Regions from separate parts of the Homo sapiens genome. Here regions 2 and 3 are each linked to region 1. The links are contacts of gene promoters, found by promoter capture Hi-C in human tissues and cell types (Jung and others, 2019). All regions are on one chromosome and are shown on one strand. Each heading gives the region's core, a stretch centred on a gene start or on the middle of the fragment in contact. The rest is flanking DNA. Distances are from core to core; before and after follow the strand shown. Region 1 holds the start of TXLNA (taxilin alpha). Region 2 overlaps LOC102723870 (a long non-coding RNA gene). Region 3 holds the start of SPOCD1 (SPOC domain containing 1).

The links. The method cuts DNA at HindIII sites, captures the fragments that hold promoters and counts their contacts. A contact is called where the count stands out against the background at its distance.
Region 2: a contact is called between a fragment that was not itself captured here and the fragment with the promoter of TXLNA in region 1, in 1 of the 25 tissues and cell types used here (aorta).
Region 3: the fragment with the promoter of SPOCD1 here is called in contact with the fragment with the promoter of TXLNA in region 1 in 2 of the 25 tissues and cell types used here (lymphoblastoid cells and small bowel).

The regions. Positions count from the first base shown.
Region 1 is chr1:32,177,966-32,181,925 of GRCh38, reverse strand. It overlaps TXLNA (taxilin alpha), which reads right to left and starts at 2,251. Exons shown (of 11, transcript NM_175852.4): 1 at 2,150-2,251; 2 at 1,412-1,612; 3 at 349-684. The coding sequence starts at 1,580. RefSeq lists enhancers at 1,248-1,297, 1,308-1,467, 1,588-1,667, 1,555-2,313, 2,314-3,073 and silencers at 1,868-2,047, 2,188-2,377. The HindIII fragment of the contact is 8,351 bases long and covers 1-3,960 here.
Region 2 is chr1:32,606,038-32,609,997 of GRCh38, reverse strand. It overlaps LOC102723870 (a long non-coding RNA gene), which reads left to right. Exons shown (of 3, transcript XR_426677.5): 3 at 671-1,449. Among named protein-coding and RNA genes, the nearest start is that of ZBTB8OS, 43 kb to the left of the region's middle. RefSeq lists an enhancer at 2,918-3,418. The HindIII fragment of the contact is 3,211 bases long and covers 74-3,284 here.
Region 3 is chr1:31,813,983-31,817,942 of GRCh38, reverse strand. SPOCD1 (SPOC domain containing 1) reads left to right here and starts at 1,921. Exons shown (of 16, transcript NM_144569.7): 1 at 1,921-1,982; 2 at 2,571-3,960. The coding sequence starts at 2,610. The HindIII fragment of the contact is 15,941 bases long and covers 1-3,960 here.

The DNA.
Region 1 (3,960 bases), core at 1,002-3,501:
TATAAACTAAGACCCAGAGAGGAGAAGGGACACACCCAAGGTCACACAGCAGGTAGTACTGGCTGGCACAGGAGCCTACCCTAGCCTCCCGTCTCCATTTTCTCAAAGAGAGAACAGGTCCCATGCCAAGCTCCAGTTGCTCCAAAACCCAGAAGGCTTTGTGCTGGTAACTCCTGCATCTCTCTATGCCGTGGCCCCCACATCCCTGGCTTTGATTAGACTAGAGTGACTTGCTGCTCTGAGAAGTACCGTTTTCCTTTGAATCCTGGCAGAACAGACTGGCCCAGAGAACGTCAAGTCCAAACTCCCTCTCCTCACCAGCTTCACAAAGAGCCGCCCTCTGCTCACCCAAACCCTTGGCTTTTTTCTTCTCCTGTGGCCTTCGATGGTCTCGGTCTCCGACCTCGTCACTCTGCCGGATCTCTTCTGTGTTTGGATCCCCCTTGGAGGGTTCCTTCTCTCCATTGACTACTGGAGTTGGTTCAGGCTCCCCATTCCTTGCCACATAGGTCCGGGACTTCTCTGCATCTTCGGGTTCAGCCGGCTCACCCTGTGCCCCATCCTCGCCGGGGCCCCCCTGGTTATTGTCCACACAGTATGTGCTCAGTATGTCTTCCAGTTGGCGGCTCAGCTCCTCAGAGACATCACGAAGGGCCCCAGACTGAGCCGTTCTGGCTTGAGCCCCTACAGCAGGAGAGGATGAGGGGTAGAGTGAGAAAGAAGACGATTATACCACTGGTTGGGATTTTTCAGGCCCAGCCAAACTCATCAGTTTGAGTTAAATGTTGCCTAACTTTTTTTTTTATGGAAACTGAGAAGCAAGAATGGAGTATCATTCAGCAAATCTAGTTCCTGTCAGAATTTAGATTCGAAACATCTTTTAAATCAAGAAATTATAGTAATCGTTGCCTAACTTCTTTAAGTCTGTTTACTTGTAAAATGACACAACTATTTCTCACTACCACCCGAACATATTTGTTAGATCATAAAAGTATGTAAAGCATCAGCACACAGGGATGGCACGGAGCAACTTCTAGTCCATCTCCTTCCCCCCCACAAAACCATTTCTTGCCATTCAGATCATTCTAGAAATGCCTCAAACAGGAAGGGCAGTTAGCTGCTGGTGGCTGAGGTGTTTCTAACGGGACCTGGATTTCCTGACTGGGTGCCTCGTTTGGCTGCCACCTGACTTAATCCCGTCGGAGCTTCTCTCCAGAACTCTGTTCCTGTGCTTAGAGGGGGCAGCTCCGCCAACTCGCCAGAGCGCAGGGGGGACCGCGGCCCCCAGCACTGTCCTCTCATTCTACATCTCCTCCTCCCGGACAACCTGGCCTCGGCCTGTAAGTCCAGAAGCGAGGCCGACCCCACAGCTCCTCCCCCTGCCCGCTGGCAACGCAGAGCTGGCACACACCCTCCGGCTTCCGAGGAGCCTGGCTGCTGCCGGGACCTTCTGCTTCTACTGCAGGAGCCGCCTGGCTGGGCCGCTCCTGGGCTCCCTCGGGTCCTGCTTCCGGTTGTCCTGGGCTGCTTTTTGGATTGGATTGTTTGGCAGCCCCGTTCTTTTTGTCTTGGTTCTTCATTGTGATGAGCGATGCTGGGTCAGGAGAAGATCCTTTAGAAACAAACACAGTTGCTATTTTCCAGACTTCGAAATTCTTCGCAGCCTGGATCAGAAATCCCCACAGCAGGCGCACAAAGCTTCTTAAAATAAACGGACCGGCAGGCCCGGGCGGAGGGCGCCAACGGCTCTCTGGTCTTGGCGGGTCAGGAGAGCCCGACGTGCCGGGGCAGGCTTTCGGGGCGCAGCTCCCACAGCGGGTGAGGGAAGAGGCCTCTTCTCCCTGGAGCCACTTCCCGGCACAACCGGCCCCCTCGCGGCAGGCCGGGCGCGGGATTGGCTCAGGGCCGGAGACTGACGTGGCGGGACTCCCGGCACCGCCCCCGCCCCTCAGGCCCCACGTGCGCCCCCCGCGCGCGCAGCCACCCACGCCCCGCGCGCCCTCAAGCCGCGAGGCACGCCCGCGCATGCGCATATCCCCAGACAGCCCCCGGCCCACGCGGGGAGTTGGCGTGATTTCCCCACAGGCCGAGAACATCCCGGCCCGCACACTCTCAAATAGTCTCGCCCACCGGCCGCCGCTGCACGTACCTCACCGCCGACGTCCGATGGCTTCCCCACCTCTGGCCTCGCACCGGAAACCCCGAGTAACTGCTGCCGGCCAGCCGCCTGCTCCCGCCTCAGCCAATCAATAGCCGGCGCCGGCGCGGAGCTTGCTGGGAAGGACGAAGCGAGGGCGGCCTCGGAGGCGGGCGCCCCGGCAGGGCGGGGCAGGGAAAAGACTACGCGTCCCTCTTTACGCAGGGGCTAGCCGCAGATCCCAAGGTGCATAAGGGACTGTAGTCCTGGGAGTCCAAAAGGAGCCCGTCATTCTGCACGAGTGCCCATGTCAACCTTGTTTCTATCTCGCAGAAGCTATGCTTCAACTCCCAAAGCCTTGCGCCTGGCTGTTGTTTCCTGCAGGCCTCCATCAAACCTTCCTCCCTGGCCGTGAACAAATGTGACTCCATCCGGGAACTCCGAGGACTCGGGAAGAGGGATAGAGTCCTGGGCTGAGACTCAGGAGACCCATACTCCAGTCCCAACTTCATCACGGATTTGCTGTGTGGCTGGACGTTCTGTTCTCTCTCTGGGCCTCAATGTCCTTCTTCCAAAGGAGGCTTTTAATAACAATAGCAGTTCCTTGAACGCTTACTGTGTGCTTTCCCGCTATCTAATAGCTTGGTTCTCATAACCACTCATAGAAATAACTACTATCTGTTATCCCCATTTTACGGAAAAGGACAGTAAGAGAAAGGTTAGGTAACTTATCCAAGGTCATATCGATAGTGAGTGGTTAAAACAGGGATTCAAAACTGGTAAGTCTGAGACCAGCACCCAGGTAATTACCTGGTCTTTCACCCAGAAGAAACACTACCACAGCAGGTTTCCCTGAGGCAGTCAAGGTAACTTGTGAAAGTAGGTCATATTTTCCCCTCTCCATTACCATTTTGGCAGTCAGTTCCTCAGAAAGGTGCTGAGTTAGGCTTCAGGCATATTCATGAGCCTTTTCTCTACCCCACACTCTACAAAGTCTCACTGGGGTTAAAGTAGAAAAAACCCCCACAGTTCCCTACACATGAGATCACAATTCTGTATCCCCATTGCTTCTGGATAATGAAATCAAACCCAACAATCCTTGTGCCTGGAATTTGAAGCCTAAGAGATTTGACTTTTGCCAAACCCAAAATTTTTTGAGGCCCAGTTCAAAGGTCACTTCAGAGCCTTCCCAGTGCTCTGCAAACCGTACTTGCTCCCTAGGTCTGCAGAGTTGTTACAGCATTAGCAGTGAGGTGTTGAAATTACTATTTACTTATAAGTCAGTTAATTTTGCAAGAACTGTTGGCTAAATAGTCTAGTCCCAGAGCCTCGCATCAGGCTGTGGGTAGAGAAGATTGTAAACTGTTGTGCTAATTGAGCGTTGGTTTAGGGCTGTTAGGATGTTAAATATTTCCCCCAAAGGCTCAGTGAAAGACTTCAGAGCCGTGCATGTTGGATTTCAGATTTTCAGATTGGGGAAGCTCAACCGGTAAAATTTGAGAAAATCCCAAATTGGAAACACTTCTGGTCCCAAGCATGTTGGATAAGAGATATTCAATTTTTAGTATAATGATGGAACTGAGGCTCAGAAAGGTTGGAATCTAGATGTCCTGAAACCAAGGCCCTGATTATTTCTAGAAAAGCATTCTGGAAATCTCTTGAGAAGGCACCATATAAATCAGGCCTTGATAGATTTCCATATAACAAGGGTGTTCTAGGTGAGATAAAGAACATAAAAATGTATGCATGGGGTGAGGGATAGAGGATGTAGTAGAAGGGTCAACAATAGCCTAGAGGGGCCAGTTGGGTAATGAGAACAGGCA
Region 2 (3,960 bases), core at 430-2,929, 430 kb before region 1:
TGCTTTGTTTCCAAATTCGTCTGAAGTCTTCTTTAAATAATACAGTAGTATTTTCCTGCCTCTCTAGTATTCCATTTAACTGGAACTAAAGAATGACTTAATTCAATTATTTTATGGAATTCTAAAGTGTAGCAATTGAGCTTTTACAGAGCTTGGAGTGTTCTGGTTCCTTTCTTTAAAAAGAAAATATTAAAGCTTGTAAAATTTCAGTATGTAGTATTTCAGTCACGTATTCATTACATAGTTCTTTTATTGGTTTGAAATACTGTGTGAATTCCCAGAATGCAATACCCATAATCAAATAAAATGCAAATGCATCCCAAAATAAAAATGGGGTATTTTAAGACTACTCATTATTTTATTAGAGTGTCGATATTACTTGTCTCTATTAAAAACCTTAGATAATGGAACATGCAGTGTGTCTTGAAATTTTACAAAAATAAATATTTTCCTGGACTGGACACCTCTATTTTTAAATTTTTCCTTAATGATACGGTTGAGAACCAGTGGACTGTAAGGTCAAATAGTCCTACTGCCTCTCCTTGGCATCTATATGGGGAGGACAGAGGGAAACCTTGAATGGGCCCTATTTTGCATGTCACAAACTTTGGGAAGCTTTTATTTATTTATTTATTTATTTATTTATTTATTTATTTATTTTTATTTTTAGAGCCAAGATCTTGCTGTATCGTCCAGGCTGAAGTGCAGTGGCACCATCATAGCTCACTGCATCCTTCACTCAGTGATCCTAAGGCTCAAGTGATCCTCCCACCCGAGCCTCCTGAGTAACTGAGACTACAGGCATGTGCCACCACGCCCACCTAATTTTTAAATTTTTTGTAGAGACTGCGACTTGTTATGTTGCCCAGGCTGGTCTCAAACTCCTAGGCTCAAGCAATCCTCCTACCTCTGTCTCCCAAAGTGTTGGGATTACAGGCATGAGCCACTGTATCCAGCCTAGGTTTTTTTTTTTCAGACGGAGTCTCGTTCTGTCGCCAGGCTGGAGTGCAGTGGCGCAATCTCAGCTCACTGCAAACTCCGCCTCCCGGGTTCAAGCGATTCTCCTGCCTCAGCCTCCTGAGTAGCTGGGACTACAGGCATGCGCCACCACACCCAGCTAATTTTTGTATTTTTAGTAGAGATGGGGTTTCACCATGTTGGCCGGGATGGTCTCGATCTCTTGACCTCCTGATCCACCCGCCTTGGCCTCCCAAAGTGCTGGAATTACAGGTGTGAGCCACCGTGCCCAGCCAGCCTAGCTTGCAAAAATACTTACACCCAAGCCCCACCTGCCCGAGATTCTGATTTGCCTAGGCATCTGTATTTTAAAAGATCCACAGGTGATTCTAATGTGCAACCAAAGTTGAGGATCTCTGGTCTAGGCAGAAATGTTGTTCCCTTTTTCCCTTATGGGCTGAATAAAAATAAGTTTCTCTTTAATAAAGAAAATAAGTAGTTGTAAGTAATATCAACAAGGAAATAAATGATTTTCCCAAGGGGAAAATCAAGAAACTATATAATGGAATTGTGTATCTGGAAATCTGAAAGAGCAAAGCAGGCAAAGTATAAAATTCTGCTTGCAAATGATCTAGCTAAGCGCAAAGGTAAAGGTAAAGGGTATTTCCCTGGTCTCTGGTTTCCTTTTTTCTTTTTGAGACAGTCTTGCTCTGTCACCCAGGCTGGAGTGCAGTGGCGTGATCTCAGCTCACTGCAACCTCCACCTCCTAGGTTCAAGCAATTATTGTGCCTCGGCCTCCTGAGTAGCTGGGATTACAGGCATGCGGCACCACGCCAGGCTAATTTTTGTATTTTTTATAGAGATGGGGTTTTACCATGTTGGCCAGGCTGGTCTTGAACTCCTAGCCTCAAATGATCCGACCACCTCGGCCTCCCAAAATTCTGGGATTACAGGTGTGAGCCACTGTACCCAGCCTCTGGTTTCCTATTTAAAGGTGAGAAAGTATGCAACGGATTTTGATGGTTTGAAGAAAAAAAAAAAAAAAGAAAGAGTAGGGAAAAGTGTTATACTATTTCAGTAATTGCAAAATATTTTGACTTCAAGATATTTTGACTTCAAGAGTCCCTTTGCTTCTATTGCTGTGTGGTTCATTACTTGTTAACATTATATTTAAATATTTTACTTTTTTGGTGGCATTAATACAGTTCTGTGGGGAGAAGGCTGACGTGAAAATGAAGTTTACAGATTCTCGGTGGATTTCATTTTTCTGGCCTATTCATAGGTCCATTAGCAGGAATAGTTAAGAAACTCCTGTATCAAAATTATATGTTACTTATACTTCACAATATATAAAACAGCTGGCTATATACTACCATTTCTGTGATAACTTGAATTTTATCATTAAAACTCTTGTAACTAAAGGCACCAGTGGCCCGTCTGTAACAGCCGCTGCTGCGATGCCAGCTGCAGTGAGGGAAACGCAGCTGAGGCTCACGGCTCCACGAAGCCCACAGGGGCTGGCTACAGGCAGGAGCCCTGCCCCTACTGAATCGGCAGGGCTGGAGTCCCACACTTCTGGGCACAGCTGCAGCCGCCCAGCTGCGGCTCCAGACCTGGGCATCCCTGCACTCTTCAGGGCTTGGGAAGCTCCCAGCGCCCACAGGCTCAGAAGTGCCTGCTCCCATTCCCTGGCCTCTTTCTGCTCCTGCACCTGCTCTGTTGCAGAGCAAAGTTGGGCCAAACCTAGGTGTTGTCGTGACCTGGCCAGGTTGAGCATGCTAGAGGTGGCACTGACACGCCAGCCCCCTGCCACCTCAGCCCCCTCTAAACTTTGGGCACCCATGTGCGTGGGAGGGAAGCCAGTCAGGGGGTTGATGACGGTGGCTTGGTTTGGGCCTGCAGGCGCCCCTTGGCACAGTCTGGGCACCATGGAGGGCATGTTGATGGCAGGAGGCAGACAGGTTCCTGGGTGGAAAAGGGTGGGTTCCCAGTGAAATCCCCCCTTCAAGCCAGGGAATGCCTGAAGCCTGGGGGTTGGTCTGGCAGTTCCTGGTGGAGTCCAGGGCTAGAGTAAGAACTTGTGGTGTTTTCTGGGCTGCCCATGGACACCCACAGACCAAGCAGCATGCACTTCCTCCCTTCTGAGCCCATAAAAACCCCTGGTCTCAGCAGACTCAGCCGGCTGTCAGGACTACCAGCTGCAGGAAGGAGCTACCCGCTTTGAGTCTCCTTAAAAGGACCTGCCTGCAGGTCTCCTCTTGGGTGAGAGCTGGTCATCTGGACACTCATCAGGTCGACCTGCCTGTGGAAAGGAGCTATCCACTTCGGGTCTCCTGAGAGCTGTTCTGTTGCAGAGTGAAGCTCCTCTCTGCCCTGTGGAAAGGAGCTACCCACTTCAGGTCTCCTGAGAGCTGTTCTGTTGCTCAGTGAAGCTCCTTTCGGCCTTGCTCACCCTCCAGTTGTCTGCGTACCTCATTCTTCTCGGATGCAGGAAAAGAACTCGGGACCCACCAAATGGTGGACTGAAAGAGCTGTAACACAAGCAGGGCTGAAACATGCTCCCTGCTCACCACGTTGTGGGCGACGAGAAGGAGAGAAGAGCTGCAGCCCTTCTGGCAGCCCAGACCTCGGGGCTCCCTGAGCCATGGTGTGACATGCTGTAACACCCTCTTTGGGGGTCTGCAGTTCCCGGCATCTCTGAGCTTTCGGGCACCACTGCGTTCCACTTGTCCAAATGCTGATGCCCGCAGCGGAAGCCGCTTTCAGTACGTCTGGTCCCGCTGCAGCCTGGCATGGAGCTGGTGCCTGTGCCAGCGCCTAGAGCTGTCCACCCCACTGCAGCCAGTGTGCCTGGTTGTGTGCAGTGGCCGGACCCCACGCTAGCTCACTCACACACCCGTCACTCCGTGCCTGGCTCACCCTCGGCAGGCATGAGATCCAGGCTGGTACCACCAGTGGACCACAGCCTGCCAGTCCACATGGGTGGAATGAGCCCAGCAGGC
Region 3 (3,960 bases), core at 672-3,171, 360 kb after region 1:
AAAAAAAAAATTAGCTGGGCATGGCGGTGCATGCCTGTAGTACCAGCGACTCAGGAGGCTGAGAGGGGAATATCACTTGAGCCTGGGAGGTCAAAGCTGCAGTGAGCTATGATTACACTACCACAACTCAGCCTGAGCGACAGAGCCAGACCCTATCTCAAAAAAAAAAAAAAAAAAAAAAAAAGCCAAACACCACTGTTTCTGCAGTAAAAGTATTTACATAATCATAACATTATAAATGTCATTTGGCTTTCAGTGTTAAGAATCAATCTACAGGTAAACAACGGTAAACTGAATTATCTTTACCGAATAGAATGTAAATGCTATAAACCTCAGCGATACAAAAATAAAAGCTTAGTTCATGGATAACGGCAGAAGCAGGGAGGGGACATCAAGGGAAATTATCCATTTCACACAGAGAAGAGTCAAGAGATACAATATACAGAAGAAACAGACATTTAAGAATAGTATTCAAAGTGATAATAGAAACCAATAGTAAAATTTAAAATATAAATATAAAAAAGAGGGCCAGGCACGGTGGCTAACGCCTGTAATCCCAGCAATTTGGGAGGCTGAGGTGGGTGGAACACGAGGTCAGGAGTTTGAGACCAGCTTGGCCAGCATGGTGAAACCCTGTCTCCACGAAAAATACAAAAATTAGCAGGGCATGGTGGCACGTGCCTGTAGTCCCAGCTACTCGGGAGGGTGAGGTAGGAGAATCACTTGACCCTGGGAGGCAGAGGTTGTAGTGAGCTGAGACTGTGCCACTGCACTCCAGCGTGGGCGACAGAGCGAGACGCTGTTTCAAAAAAAAAAAAAAAATATATATATATATATATATATGAAAAGCGGAAGAGAAAGGGGGAAAGGGTGGTTAATAAAATCACCACAGCAGGAAGTCAACAGATACAACAGACACAGTTAAAATTAATAAATCAAGTAATAGAGGCATGAGTATATTATTTACAGTTATGAAATTTAAAAAATTAACATGATGACAAACATGGTAAAAAACAAAAAACAAAACACAGTTGTTTCCAGGAGTTGGGGTATTGGGAAATGAGAGATAGCTTTAAACTTTTTATTTCTAACCTTCTATTGGAATTGATTCTGCATTTCCATCTACATTAATTATATTTGAGATTTTCTTTTTAAATTAGGCAAGCACTATTCACAATAGCAAAGACATGGAATCAACCTAAATGCCCATCAATGGCAGATTGGCTAAAGAAAATGTGGTACATATACACAATGGAATACTATGCAGCCATAAAAAAGAATGAGATCACGTCCTTTGCAGGAACGTGGATGGAGCTGGAGGCCATTATCCTTAGCAAACTAATGCAGGAACGGAAAAACCAAATATTGCATGTTCTCACTTATAAGTGGGAGCTAAATGGTGAGAACACATGGACAGAAAGAGGTTAACAACAGACACTGGGGCCTGCTTGAGGGTGGAGGGTAGGAGGCAGTAGAAGATAAGAAAAAATAAATATTGGGTACTAGGCTTGATAACTGGGTGACGAAATAATCTGTACAACAACCCCCGTGACACAAGTTTACCTATATTAAAAACCTGCATATGGACCTCTGACCCTAAAATAAAAGTTTAAAAATAAAATAAAATAAAATTAGGCAAAAAATCTAGGTAATTCTGACATTGTCCTACTGGCTCAGGGACTATTGCGGTAGGATCAAGTTAAACTCTCAGGCAGGCAGCCAAGGCCCCTCGCTGCCCCATGCACCCACCTACCTCTGCTTGGGAGCCAGGATTGGCACCTCCTCCAGGAAGCCCTCAGGAGGAAGAGGGCGCCCTCTGCCGGGGCAGGAACGCCAGCACGCCTGGGGAGCAGCCTTTTGCTCATCATCAGGGACTCCGCCCCTATCCCTCAGCAAGGGCCTCCCTCCCCCGCATCACGTGATCTCAGCTCCTTTTCAGCTAGTGGGTGGAACCCCAGGAGGGAAAACTCAGGGAAGCCCAGGTGAGAGCGACGCGACCGATGGGGCCCGGATTTCTTGGATGCTGGGGGACTGTCCCAGTAAGGCTTGGGAACCTGGGTGGGGCGCCTTTCAGAACGGGACCGATGGGAGAGAGACGAGAAGGGTTATGGGCACGAACCCCGTTCAGTATCTGCTCCTTGCGCAGTGTGAGAACTGGGAGAGAGACTCCTGGCCCTTCCACTTCCTGTGCTTCCTTGGGTGAGTGTCTTAACATCTCAGAATCTCAGTGTCCTCACCTGTGGCTGCCAGTATGAAATGAAATAAGCACATAAGTCATAAATAAATGGTATCTTATTAGGTCCCATTTAAGCGAATGTGTGAACTCTCAGAGACAAGAAGACCCTGGAGGCCACTGTAGCTCGGCCCTGTTTGGAGGCAGGCCTCTCCACCCTCACCCAGGACACCAGCTCCTGCTGGGTGCTCCCCTCCCTGGAGTGCTCACCCCTAGGCCTCAGGAGTGGAAGGGTCTGGGAGAGCTGGCTGGAAGAGGGGCTCCTCCCAGTTCCCACTGAACGGGCTGACAGGTCGGACTCTCCAAGACAAAGTCTCCTCTTTCTGTCTCCACACAGGGCCCGTGTTGTGCTTTTGGCCCAGGTAGGTGGACAGACATGTCCCAGGCGGGGGACGTAGAAGGCCCCAGCACAGGAGACCCTGTGCTCAGTCCCCAACACAACTGTGAGCTTTTACAGAACATGGAAGGAGCCAGCTCCATGCCAGGCCTGTCACCAGATGGGCCGGGAGCAAGCTCTGGGCCCGGAGTCAGGGCTGGCAGCAGAAGGAAGATCCCCAGGAAGGAGGCCCTTCGAGGTGGCAGCTCCCGGGCTGCAGGTGCTGCTGAGGTCCGGCCAGGGGTCTTGGAGCTGCTAGCTGTGGTACAGAGCCGGGGCTCGATGCTGGCTCCTGGGCTCCACATGCAGCTGCCCTCGGTGCCTACTCAGGGGAGAGCTCTGACCTCCAAGAGGCTCCAGGTTTCTCTGTGTGACATCTTAGATGACAGTTGCCCCAGGAAACTTTGTAGCAGGTCTGCTGGCCTCCCAGAGAGAGCTCTGGCCTGCAGGGAGAGGCTTGCAGGAGTGGAGGAGGTGAGCTGCCTCAGGCCCAGGGAGGCCAGAGACGGTGGAATGAGTTCTCCAGGGTGTGACAGAAGAAGCCCCACACTCAGCAAAGAGGAGCCCCCTGGAAGGCCCCTGACATCCTCACCAGACCCAGTCCCTGTGAGGGTAAGAAAGAAATGGAGGAGGCAAGGGGCTCATTCAGAGTGTGAGGAAGGGGCTGGTGACTTCCTGTGGCTTGATCAGAGCCCTCGTGGGGACAACCTCCTGTCTGTGGGAGACCCTCCCCAAGTTGCTGACCTGGAGTCCTTGGGAGGCCCTTGCAGACCTCCCTCTCCAAAAGACACTGGGTCTGGGCCTGGAGAGCCAGGTGGAAGTGGGGCAGGATGTGCCTCAGGGACTGAGAAATTTGGATATTTGCCCGCTACAGGGGATGGGCCCCAGCCAGGCAGCCCCTGTGGCCCTGTCGGGTTCCCAGTGCCCAGTGGAGGGGAGTCCCTCAGTTCAGCTGCACAGGCTCCTCCACAGAGCGCAGCACTGTGCCTGGGGGCGTCAGCACAGGCCTCTGCAGAGCAGCAAGAAGCTGTGTGTGTCGTGCGGACTGGCAGCGATGAAGGCCAGGCTCCAGCACAGGACCAGGAGGAGCTGGAGGCCAAGGCTCAGCCAGCTTCCAGGGGAAGGCTGGAGCAAGGACTCGCTGCCCCCGCTGACACCTGTGCCAGCTCCCGGGAGCCCTTGGGCGGCCTCAGCTCCTCCCTGGATACTGAAGCCAGCAGGGCCTGCTCAGGCCCATTCATGGAGCAGAGAAGATCCAAGGGCACTAAGAACCTGAAGAAAGGTCCAGTGCCCTGTGCCCAAGACCGGGGCACAGACAGAAGCTCAGACAACTCCCACCAGGACAGGCCAG